3 separate regions of the Homo sapiens genome follow, and all the other regions are linked to region 1. Evidence: promoter capture Hi-C in human tissues and cell types (Jung and others, 2019). All regions are on one chromosome and are shown on one strand. The core of a region is centred on a gene start or on the middle of the fragment in contact, and the rest is flanking DNA. Distances in the headings are between cores, read along the strand shown.

Region 1 (4,119 bases), core at 371-2,870:
AGATTCATGAATGACTCTCTAGGCCCGCTCGGGATGGCGGGGAGAGGCGCAGGAGACGCGGTGAGAGAGGACAGTCTCCACACCACTCTCCCGCACACACTCTCACCCCAGGCGCAAATCCGTTGTCTTCATAGGAAGGAGAAAGAGGGGTGGTGGTGAAGGGAAACACTATCCTCCCAAGCAGGGAAGAGATGACAAAAATTAAATTGCGCTCTCTGCTTTCGCCCCAGCTCTGCCACCGGACTCGGTCCGCAAATTCCCTAATCGCTCCGAGCTGTTCAGAATCTCGCAAACAAAGGGAGAAAACTCTTTCAAGTGCTACCAAACGAAAGTTCGGGTTGCTGTGCGGCGCAGAATAAAACAAGCACACACACGTCTACTTCCAAACCTCGCTTCACCACGCTAAAAATCCGAGCCATTTCAAGTTCCACTGCCTCCCCAGACCCAGCAGGCTTGGAAGGAGAGAAAAACCTGCTCTACCCAGCCAGGTCCCTTCCTTTGGAGAAGTTATAAGCCTTCCATGGCACCCGCTACTCGAGCCAATGAACGCGACTGCTCTGACAAGGCGCCTCTAATTTCACCGACCCTGGCAAACTGCAGGAGACATTCAGTCCACGCCACATAAAAACTATTAAAGTGGGATCGCCGCAGTTGAAAAGCCCGATCAGTGCCTGGAGATTAGAACGCGAGCCTTTAAAGTACACACGCACCCGGCACCGGGAAAGCCCAGGCGCCTGTGACCCTCCGAAGGACTCTGGGTCAGCATCCTCGCGCCTGGACCATCTAGGGGGTCATCAGAAAGTAATACACGTCATAAGAAAGATGTGGGGGAGACCCCGATGCTCGCGCCTCTGCCAGGTGGAGGCGGGGTGCAGGTAGAAGCCGCGCGCTGGACTGCTGGATGAACTCCGTTACGCGCAGGCTCCGCGCCGACCCCGGAAGGGACAGGCAGGCTCGGAAGGGACCCTTGGGGCTTGGGGACGTCTTCTAGGGCAGAGAGCACCGCTGCGGTCCGAGCGGCCCGGGCCCTCAGGCGTGGGGCACCCGGCCTCCAAGCGCCCCCCGGGGACGCAGGCGCCCACGCACCGTCCAGCTGCGCGTCCTCAGTACCCAGCGCTCGGCGTCCCCGGCGGAGCCTCGCGCACTTTCCCGGAAAGTTTGGGGGTTCTCTCAACTCAGGCTCCCCCGGGAGCCCTGGGGCGGGGGTTGGAAGAAGGGGTCACTCACCTCGTCGCCCGGTCCGCCTCGGGTTCCCGAAGTGTCTGTCCCAGCCGCGGTTCAGTGCGTCCGTAATTAAGTATTTATTCTCGTTCCTTCCAGTGTCGAAGTTTCCCCTTCGCGCTGTGCCTCTGGTGAAAACAGGACATCCCCTTCGGCCACCCCACAACAAATAGCGTACACAAGCGGGGGAGAAGCGGGGCGGAGGGAGAAGCCGGCTCCGAGGGGGAGGAGGAAAGGAGAGGAGCCAAAACTCCGGACTGCGACAGGGGGGAAAGGAGAAGAAAAGAAAATGAGAGAGCGCGCCCAGCCGCCGCAGTCGTCACTCCCCGGCTTTTCCCGCAGCTCTTTCCCCCTCTCTAAGGCAGCGACAACTTCACGTGGACAGGATGGAAGTTTTGCGCGGAAGCCGGGAACGGCCGGAGCGTGCGCCGCGCTGCCGGCAGCCTCGCACTTGCGCAGGGAGGTGGGGCGGGGGCGACGTCGCCACCGGCTACTGCGGGCTCGTGAGGCCGCCGGGGGCCTCGGGGGAGGCCGCCAGGGACGCGGGGGGCGGCGGCGCGCGGGGGACCCACTCCGTTTTTATTTGACCTCGGGTGACTGCCTATTGTCATGGTTTGCGATCTCGCGTGGGGACCGCCCAGGGCCTCGGGGCCCTGGATGTCCCGGGTGGCGCCGCCGTAATCTCCGTGCCCTCCGCGCCGCCCCCACCCCGCCCCCACCCGGGCCGACTCGAGCGGCTGCAGCCTCCAGGCTGAGGGGAGGGACCCGCGACCGCGCTCTCCTCCCTGGGCCGGAGAGCCACTGTCGATCCCCACCTGCTTCTGTGGGGCAGCCCCCGGAATTGCCTGGAACTCTCTCGCTACCCAGTTCCCCTGTGCAGGCCACTGCGGGCCCCCTGCCGGACTCCTTTCCACTTACCCCAAGGGAGGAGACAGAAGGGACTTCGCCTACTTGCAACAACGTGAAATAAAAACCAACCCAGACCAGACTGGGGCGCTTTTTCTGACGGGAGGAAATACCCTTTTCCGTGGAGATATATGTTATGAAGGACTAAGCGGTCTGGGGATAGGCTGTGCTGCGAAGGGCCTGGGCCCCTTCCAGTGCTGCTGGGTGCAGGTATAGGCATCCGTCCCAGACGCCCAAAGGTCAGGCAGCAACGACTTACTTCCAAGGCGGCGTCAGAGCTTCTCTAGGCACATTGCTGAAATGACATTTCGTGTCTAAGCCTTCTGCGCATGCACTACGCGACTACATAGGATTTACGATTTTATACCCACACGTGTGTATGCCACAACCAGGGGACACAGCAAAGGTAGACGGAATAAACAATCCATAAATTTTGCATCCATTTAATCACCTCTTCCAAAAACCTATTGTCTATTTTAGCGGCACCTTCTCTGTCATATTGATAATAAATGTTTTAATTTATTGATAAATCACTGAGTGTCAATCATTGTATTGGTCACTTATGGTACATGAGTTCATTTAACTTCCATGACAACTCTACGGTGGTCATTATTAAGCCGGTATAAAAGATGAGGAAACCAAAGCCCAAAGAATCATGAGTGACTTTTCCAAAGACAAATCCAGTGGTCTCTAATCACAAAGCCTATGATACAACAACCTCTACATTACCTTAGGTGTGGTCTAAGAGATTACAGATTAATCCGTAGAAATTACTCCCATTCAAAGAAAGTTTAGTTTTAATATATTCACTAAGTTACGTTCTGAAAAAGGTTCAGAAAAAAGATTTCATCCTCTACTTTAGGTTGGTCTTATGCAACTGATATGAGCACTGTCTAATTCAAAAGCAGTATCAACCCTGAATACTTATGGTTACAATTTATTTTTTAATGAGTGGGGAATTATCTACAATGCTTAAGAGGCTCTAGAAAAGGTGGTGTTGTAAATTTAAAATGATAAAGGCAGTCGTTGCTGCTCTCATCACTTACTGGGTGTTCTTTCCTGCAGATTTATTTTGGAGGGTGTAGGCATTGCCAGGCATAATGTTTCCTTTTCTGGTTCTCAAGGTAGAAAGGGTTCTGGCAGTGGGGTTGGCACAAAGCGGATTTGGAGCATGGTTGAGAGCACATTCTGGCCTAACGAGGAATGCCAGTTAATATACACTGGAGAGAAAAATATGAATGGACAGATTTAATTAATTTTGCAGATTTATTTTCTCCATTTCACATGTGAGAAAACTAAGGGCTCAGAATTTTTAGAAGCTTGCTAATAAATGGCAGACCTGAGTTTCAAGCCAGCCTTTATTTAAGTCCACTCTTAGTCACTGTGATGCTATTATTAGTATTAATGGTATTCAGAAAAATAGTAATTCTTTTAAATATGTAATATATTACAAGCCAAATATGCAATTTAAATGTTTTGTGAATCATAGTGTCTAAGAATGTTCTGTGGCTATAGCAAATATCATGTAAGGATTAAGTACAATGATGAATTTAATACTGTCCTCAAAAGGCAACAACATTTTGAATTTCATTTTGGCATAAAACATTATGTGCTAGTTTCACCTACAAATAAAGGTGGGAGATGTATGATTTGAATAAAATAAAAATTCATACTTTAGCATATTGTTAACATAAATATAGGGTGGGTTTTCTTAGCATGTTTCTTTGTACCCTTCTAAAGTCAGATTTTTCAGTTACACTGACCTTGCTTTCAAGGTCACTTTGCTCCTGCATAGTTTTTTGTACATCTAGATAAGAATACATGTACAGAAATTATTTTTAAAATCCAGGATAATATATTAGTTATTTGACTTCATATTACTACCTTCTAATAGTTGTCTTAAATATACATATATTAACATGGACACCACTAGGTGTCAGATAAAACGTCAATTTTCAGTACACATTTGAAATAAGTTTAACATAGGAAACA
Region 2 (3,980 bases), core at 1,417-3,916, 140 kb before region 1:
TACCGAAGACAAAAAAGGTTATTTTATGACATCTTCAAATTACTTCAAAACCCTATCTTATTTCTGAATTAAGGTAGAGGAGTTAAAGGAATCATCAAGAAAAATATTTCTAGGGTTTTGATCAAAGAAGTAGAGGCAAATGGATAGTTTTACCTAATTTGAACACACTCTTCCATTTGAGACTTCATTAAATGGCAAGTGCTGACCCATATATGCTATATAAGAAAGAATATTCTTATAAAACATATAGAACCTTCAATGACTATCATTTAGGCAGGAGTGCAGTGGCTATTCATAGGTGCAATCATGGTGCACTACAGTCTCAAACTCCCTAGTGTAAGCCATCCTCCTGTCTCAGCCTTCCACGTAACTGGGTCTACAGGTATGCACCATCACCCCAGGCTTACTTCTGAATGTGTTTTGAATGAAGTGGAAAACAAGCAGGTCAAGAAATGAGTCAGAATTTCATGCCAAAAAGTTAAATTCAAATCCTAGTTTTCACAAGACACACAAGGGGGTGGGCCAATAAATAAAAAAATAAATGTTGAAAATTTTTCCATAGAAATACACACACACACACACACACACACACACACACACACCAAGACAGAAAGGATGAATAGCGTAAATGAATGCAACTTGCTGCAAATAAAGTGAACTTTAACCTATGCAATATCTCTTCAGAGAAATTATAAAAATACAGGAAAATTCCAAGCACCATGAAAAAGAGTTAAATATTTAACTATTTTAAGAAAAGCAACTATTAGTATTCAATGAAAACATAAATATCAAAATTCTAAATTTTTGAGATGAAGGAATGGGTGAATAACAGCTAAAATTTTTGAGTGTTTTCCACATGCCAGGCACAGTGCTTAGATATATACAATTTTCTTCCCAGTTCCCATATAGTAACACTGAGAAGCAGAAACAACCTGAAAGCAAGTTATGTAGCAAATTTCAACTCCAGATCTATGAAGGCATTTTAACCAGAACCTATGAAGAACCTAAAATTCATAAACATATGAATTAAAAATGTTCAAAATGAAGATCAAAACGTCTTAATATTTAAAATTTGACTTCAATTACATAACAATAATAATTACTGCCATTTATTAAGCAAATATTCTTTTCCACTCACTCTGCTAGACTATGTATATATATAATCTCATTTAATGCATGTAGACAGGTATGATTAATAAAATCCTCCTCTTATGAACTAGAAAACTAATGTGCAAAGAGGTTCAACAACTTGCCTAATATCCCACAGCTAACACTAGCAAGGCTGGAATTACAACTTAAGGCCACACATCAAGCCTTTCATTCTCTCCTATGCTACATTTGCCAGTTGTGTTCATTAGTTTACTTTCCTTTCTTTTTAAAATCTCACTTTATTGAGGTATGATTGATATACAAAAAGGTACACCTATTTAATGTATACAACTTGATGAGTTTGAGATAAGAATGCACCTGTGAAACTACCACTGTAATCTATGCTGTGAACATATCCATCACTTCCAAAAATTTCCTCCCAAATTGTGTGTGTGTGTGTGTGTGAACATAATATAAATCTACTCTCTTAGTGAATTTTAAAGTATACAATATTAGTGCCTATATTGTTGCTATAGGCACTGTTCTGTACAGTGGATTTCTGGGAACGACCCACCTTGCATAAGTAAAACTTTGTACCCTTGACTAATATCTCCCATTTAAAACTAAGAGTGGAAATTAAAGTTCTGTGGAACAATTTTCAAAGAAGAACCTACTAGTTACTTTTATAATACATCAGTCATTAAAGGAATCCTTTAAACTAGACTACTGAAGTAACCAGTTTTTACCAAGCACTAGTAACATTTAAACTCCATGTAAGCAAAATAAATAGTAGTTTTGAAAAAATTATCCAGATATCTCTAGCATCCACCTCCGCCACCACCCCAAAAACAGCCAAAAAAAAAAAAAAAAAAAAACTAATGTGAAAAACAACTTCTGCGTTGTTTCTTTTTCTGTCCAAAATATCAAGATTTGCTCATTCAGCAAGGCTTTACTGAATGCCTGAGATATCCGAGGCAGTGTTCCAGCCACAGAGATGAACTAGACGTAAGCAGTTTGACACAGGAGCCACTAACCACACGTGGCTATTTAGAGCTTGAAATGTGGCTGAATTGAACGGAGATGTGCTGTTAGTGTAAAAAGCACACCAGATTTCAAAGTCTTACTATGAAAAAGAGGAAGTAGAATATCTTAGTATTTTTGATATTGAGAGTAAAATGATATTTTGGGTATACTGTGTTAAATAAAATAATTTCTCCTGTTGATTCTTACTTTTCAAGTGTGACTACTAGAAAATTTAAAATACGCATAGGATTTGTATCATTTTTCTACTGAACAGCACTCACCTAGACCAACAAACACCTGTCTGCCCAACAAACACCTCCTCCTCTAGTGGAGGAGACATACAAGAAATAAGTAAACTGGTAAATGAACAATACAATGCCAGCAGTGGTTAAGTGCTGAGATGAAAATAAAGCAGAATAAAGGAGTAGAGAGGACTGGTCAATATTATTACATTAGTCACACAATTATTTTTAAATGTCATTTCTCTTATTACACAACACTATGCATCTCTTATTTCACAATACTATTCACCCCTCAAGCTTTTTAGGTTGTATTTACGTAAGTAACATAAAGTATACTTTAAAATAAAGAATGTGTGATTTGGTATTGAGAATAATTAATACTTTCAATATCTGGAAAATATATGTAGAAAATACCATAATTTCTGGACTCTTTGGAATTATGACTATTACATTCATATATAAAAATCAATCTTAATTTTTTTAATGTTTCCAAACCACTAGGTGCTTTGAGAAGCTCACAATCTTTTGAGGAGAATTAACTCATAAAAAAAGTTTGCAAATAAGAGCAAGGTTCTTTTATTATATCTAGCATCTTCCAAAATAGCTGGGCTCAATTATCCCAATTATCTTCTAGTGAATAGTTCTGATTACAAATCGTGAAACATTAATGGGAATAAAAAATGTAAAGAATAGAATAATGTAAGAAGACATTTTCAAAAGATCTCTTTTGGAACTTCATTTTGTTTTGAAATGAGCATTAATAATTGAGTCTTAGGACATACTATACACTGAAAACAAAAGGTGGATTCAGCAACTATAAATTCGAGATTAAAATTTCACAAATGAAAGTTTATGTAATAAATAATTTATTAATATATATTCTTATGGATGGTAAGACTACTTCTTCACTGAACTGTGTAGAAAATATAAAATATAATGTAAATGAGATTAAATGCACTATTGCTTAAGGAAAACATGGATAAGCAGATAGAAAAATATTTTTTTCCAAAAATGGAGATTATATTACAGATTATTGCATGCCAAACTCTTTGTAAACATAGAAAACGATACAGAATTACTGTGAACAACAATTTAGACTTGTCGGCTTTGTTGGCATTTCTAATGTGAATACTCTAAGATGTGAATCTGACTGAATAAGTGATATTTATTTCAAAAAACTGTAGTATATCAATGCCTAGAGTCTTATATGAATGCATACTTTATGAAATGAATTTTATGACTGGGTTGAATAAAATTGTTGTAAATTATTGCCTGATTAAGCAGAATGGTATCTAACTTTAGTTACCTTTGGCTTCTAATTTAGCGAAAATAAAAGACTTCTTGAAATGTCCATGGCTATGTGACATTTTTCATATTTTCTAATACTTACAAGTTATCCATATTTGAATTTTAAATTAAATAATGTAATTTAAAAGTATTTTAAATAATTATTCCAGCTTTATTCCAGGAATAGCTGTCATGTTCTTATTTAATGCATCTCAATTGACTGGCCCTTATCACATTAATTTTTTTAAAAATTGATAACCGACTGATACAGGGTTTAATGGGCTGCCCTAGATTATCCTGGTTTCTAGTTAGCAGCATTTAATACATATGAATTAAAAT
Region 3 (3,763 bases), core at 906-3,405, 240 kb before region 1:
CTACCCCTTCATCCTGTGGGATGCTTCCTGCCTGGCGCATCATGAGCCTTCCATAATGGTTAGTTTCCTTCTTCCCCTCGCTTTGCCCCACCCTTTTGGTATTCTCCTTCTTTTGGTTTTAACCTTCTAGAAGCACAGAGGATGCATAGAGAGTCTCTATTTTGAATTTGAAAAAAAACCTTTTAGGGAAATACTTTGGAAAAATAAAACTTGTGTGTTGAAATGAGTGCTGCATGTCCTGTCGACATCCTGGGAGCTGACAGGTTTATTTCCATGACGCAGCAGTGCTGAGAGAAGTTGAACTTTGCTTTTGGAATTGCTCTTAAAGCCAGTTTATGAGTAAATTGAGAAAGGCAGCTTCATTACTCTATGGTATTTTTGACAAAAATAAAACAAATATATACAGTGACAGTTTTACCATGCTCCTTATTCACCGCCTTGGGTCCGAATGATCTTTCTATTTTTAAAGAAAGATCAAAATGACCACAAAAGGATAAAGATGTGAAGCCAGGAAATATGTTAAAAGGCTAATGATAATTCCAAAAGATGAGTTCTACCACTGATTTGGCACAATGGGGGCAACATGGATATTTAGGTGTAACACCTCATGGTGACTATTTTGAAGGGATCTTTATTTGGGCCAGTCTGCTTATTAGATTGTTTATTTTAAACACTTACCTAATATGAAACTTAGCTGCACAAAAATATTGCAATCAGCTCAACAGGATTTACTGTGTACTTCTGATAAGCCAATACTACTTAGAATAAATTCTTCAGATTATAGTCTGGAAACTTTTTATATTGCACACTTAATCAGTAGTAGGATATTGAGTGTGTACTCCAAATTTCTGTATAATTTACTTTACTTTTGTGATAAAGGGGCTAACACTTCTTGTAAATGGTTGTTAAACAAAATTATTACCTTCACATCTGTTTAGAAATATCCATTACCTCATTACCTATACTAAAACCAAATGACAATGCAGATTCACCCAAAGTGTAATTTAGGAAGACTAGACTTCAACGCAATTTTATCATTACTTGTCAGAAGACAAAGCTTAATATAGCTTAATATAGACAAAGCTAAAAACTGCATGAGCATGAGATATTATAAAATAATGGAATGCTATGAAGACATAGGAAGACATTTCTGTAAGCGTGATATGTAAAGGAACCAAAGATACAACTTTGAGTATAGTAACTGACAGTAAGCCAACATGTTCTGAGTTGGCTTTAGTTTGATTATGAGCCCTACAGAGTCTAAGACTTAAACAGTTATTGCCTAAACAGCTGTGTTTCTAGCCAAAAAGCCTTTCAGAGTTGCATCAGTCTTCGGAGAAGCACTCACAGAGGTTTGTAATAATGATGTTATAAGAAGCTAACTATAAAAATAACTGCTGGGTGTGGTGGCTCACGCCTGTAATCCCAGCACTTTGGAGGCCGAGGGGCAGGCAGATCACTTGAGGTCAGGAGTTCGAGACCAGCCTGGCCAACATGGTGAAACCCCGTCTCTACTAAAAATACAAAAATTAGCCAGGCATGGTGGCGGGCACCTGTGATCCCAGCTACTCGAGAGGCTGAGGCAGGTGGATCATTTGAGCACGGGAAGCAGAGGTTGCAGTGAGCCAAGATCATGTCACTGCACTCTAGCCTGGGGGACAGAGTGAGACTTTGTCTCAAAATAATAATAATAATAATAATAATAATAATAATAATAATAACAATGAAATAAATAAATAAAAGAGAAAATAAAAACAATAGCAAGAGAGAAAGGCAGGTGAGGCATGAGACCATCTATTGCTGACTTTGTGTATGGGAGGGGGTGTTACCTCGGTTGCTGTTCATATGTGTACTCAAGTCACAGAAAAAACACTCATTCATAAATCCAAAAGATCTGTCAGACGAAAGATTACTCGCTATTGCTATAAAATTGCAACAAATTAATTTAAACAATTTCTTAAAGCTCTTTTATTGGGGATAATATATGATTTTATAATGTTTTGAAGTCCATTTCGATTTACAATTTTTTTTCTAAAATAATTATGTGAGACTAAGAAGCTTGGTCTTGATGTAGAAAACTCAGTCCTTTTGAAGAAATAGCAAGGAATTCAATTTATAATTAGCTTTGTTAAATTTGCCAGTTCATATTAAAGAACTATAAGACACTAGAAATAGATAATTAAGAGAAGATTTCACAGACTGCAATAAAAAAACACTTAAAAGAATTTTTAAATAGCCCTTGATTTTAAACAAACACAAAAAATTTAACAAGATTTCTTGGAGTAACATTTCTTGATTTCTTACCTTGCCATACTTCTGTGCATAAGACCCGGTGAGCAGTGAGTGAAAAACAATGATGGTTTCATCCAAATCCCAGACAAACACACGCTGAAGACAAAAAATAAATATCAGAAAATTAAAAAGTCCAAGGAAACAGAAATCTCTTTACAAGCAGAAAATGTCTCCCTTCCTAGAGATCATCTTGATATCATTTAATAGAAAATAATACTATTCATTTTTTTGTTTTTCAAATTTGCCAAATCTAACTCCTATAAAGCCTGAGGAGCAGGAATTATACAAATTATAAGCTTAAGAGTCAGATGTCCTCGCTTGAATAAATTAATCCATACATTTACTCGTAGTTAACACCAAAAAGAGATACATTCAGACTTTATGATAGAAGCATGCTTGAAACTCTACATATTTTAAAGTTTTATACCTTAGGGATTCATAAACTTTTACAATTTCTGCAAAGAATTAGATTTTAAAGAAATATTTAAAAGAATCAATGAGTAACCGCTAAACAGAATTGTCAAGTATAGATCCTGGGGTCACATTAGGCCAGCAGATATGTTGGCCTCCCTGGAGTTTTGAAGGATTTCAAATTATGAATTAACATTTGAGAACTAGGCAATTGCCCACAAACTTCAGGGTTTTGACTGTAGCACAGCAACTAGAAGTTGTGGCCAGGCTGGCTGCCATTCCTACATGGCAGTGACAGGCAGGTCCCTCAGAATGGGCCTGCACTCTGAGCTCCTCACAGTCTGCTGGGCAACTCAGCCCGGTCACTCATTTATATCATCTGTCAAGTTCTTGAGGCAATGTGAACTTGTTGCTGTTGTTCAAGAAAAGGAAGTTATCTCTTATAAAGAATCACAACGTCTGTCACTTGATTTTACTAAATCTGGAAGTTCAATTTTTTTCTTAACCGAAGTATGTGGTATGTAAGAAGTAACATATTATGGTTAAGAATAGTTTCTACTGATGTTGTATATAAAAATCAACCCTGCTTAGTACAGATATATCTCAAAAGAACTCATAAATAGAAAGTGACATATAATGAAATTTTCAGATTTTAACACATACTATTAAGTGATTGAAACTTGTCCTATTTTTAGAAGATGAATTTTTCTTTCTATACAAATTACTTTCATCTTTTTAAACTTAATGACCCATTTGGACATCTTCCATTACTTTAGTGCTATCGAATACAGTGCTACATAGAAAAGTATCCCACAAACAATGGCTATAGTTTTAAAATTTGTCGGTGCCAATTTAGATCAAAACTTGCAATTATCTCAGGCCAATAATCTGTAAATCAAGATCATTTTTATACTGTTATTTGTTCTTAATTTTAATATTATAATGGATGGAATCTCAAACTTCAGAGTTGTAAAATGCCTATCACAAAGTAGTTCCATTCAATTCATGATATATCTTGATTTTTAAATTTGAAACATAATGGAACTGTAAGATAGAGAAT

Evidence for each region. Contacts are between HindIII fragments. The study calls those that stand out against the background at their distance.
Region 2: a contact is called between a fragment that was not itself captured here and the fragment with the promoter of EYA4 in region 1, in 1 of the 25 tissues and cell types used here (aorta).
Region 3: a fragment that was not itself captured here is called in contact with the fragment with the promoter of EYA4 in region 1 in 4 of the 25 tissues and cell types used here (H1 embryonic stem cells, dorsolateral prefrontal cortex, liver and 1 more).

What each region holds. Positions count from the first base shown.
Region 1 is chr6:133,238,858-133,242,976 of GRCh38, reverse strand. It overlaps EYA4 (EYA transcriptional coactivator and phosphatase 4), which reads right to left and starts at 1,620. Exons shown (of 20, transcript NM_004100.5): 1 at 1,228-1,620. It overlaps LOC124901231 (serine/arginine repetitive matrix protein 1-like), which reads left to right. Exons shown (of 3, transcript XM_047419612.1): 2 at 566-758; 3 at 1,321-2,657. The coding sequence ends at 2,191. RefSeq lists enhancers at 1-382, 383-1,277. The HindIII fragment of the contact is 6,618 bases long and covers 1-4,119 here.
Region 2 is chr6:133,375,549-133,379,528 of GRCh38, reverse strand. The region is part of intron 2 of EYA4 (EYA transcriptional coactivator and phosphatase 4); the gene reads right to left. Among named protein-coding and RNA genes, the nearest start is that of EYA4-AS2, 79 kb to the left of the region's middle. The HindIII fragment of the contact is 3,623 bases long and covers 855-3,980 here.
Region 3 is chr6:133,481,657-133,485,419 of GRCh38, reverse strand. It overlaps EYA4 (EYA transcriptional coactivator and phosphatase 4), which reads right to left. Exons shown (of 20, transcript NM_004100.5): 13 at 2,305-2,388. Among named protein-coding and RNA genes, the nearest start is that of EYA4-AS2, 27 kb to the right of the region's middle. The HindIII fragment of the contact is 3,772 bases long and covers 270-3,763 here.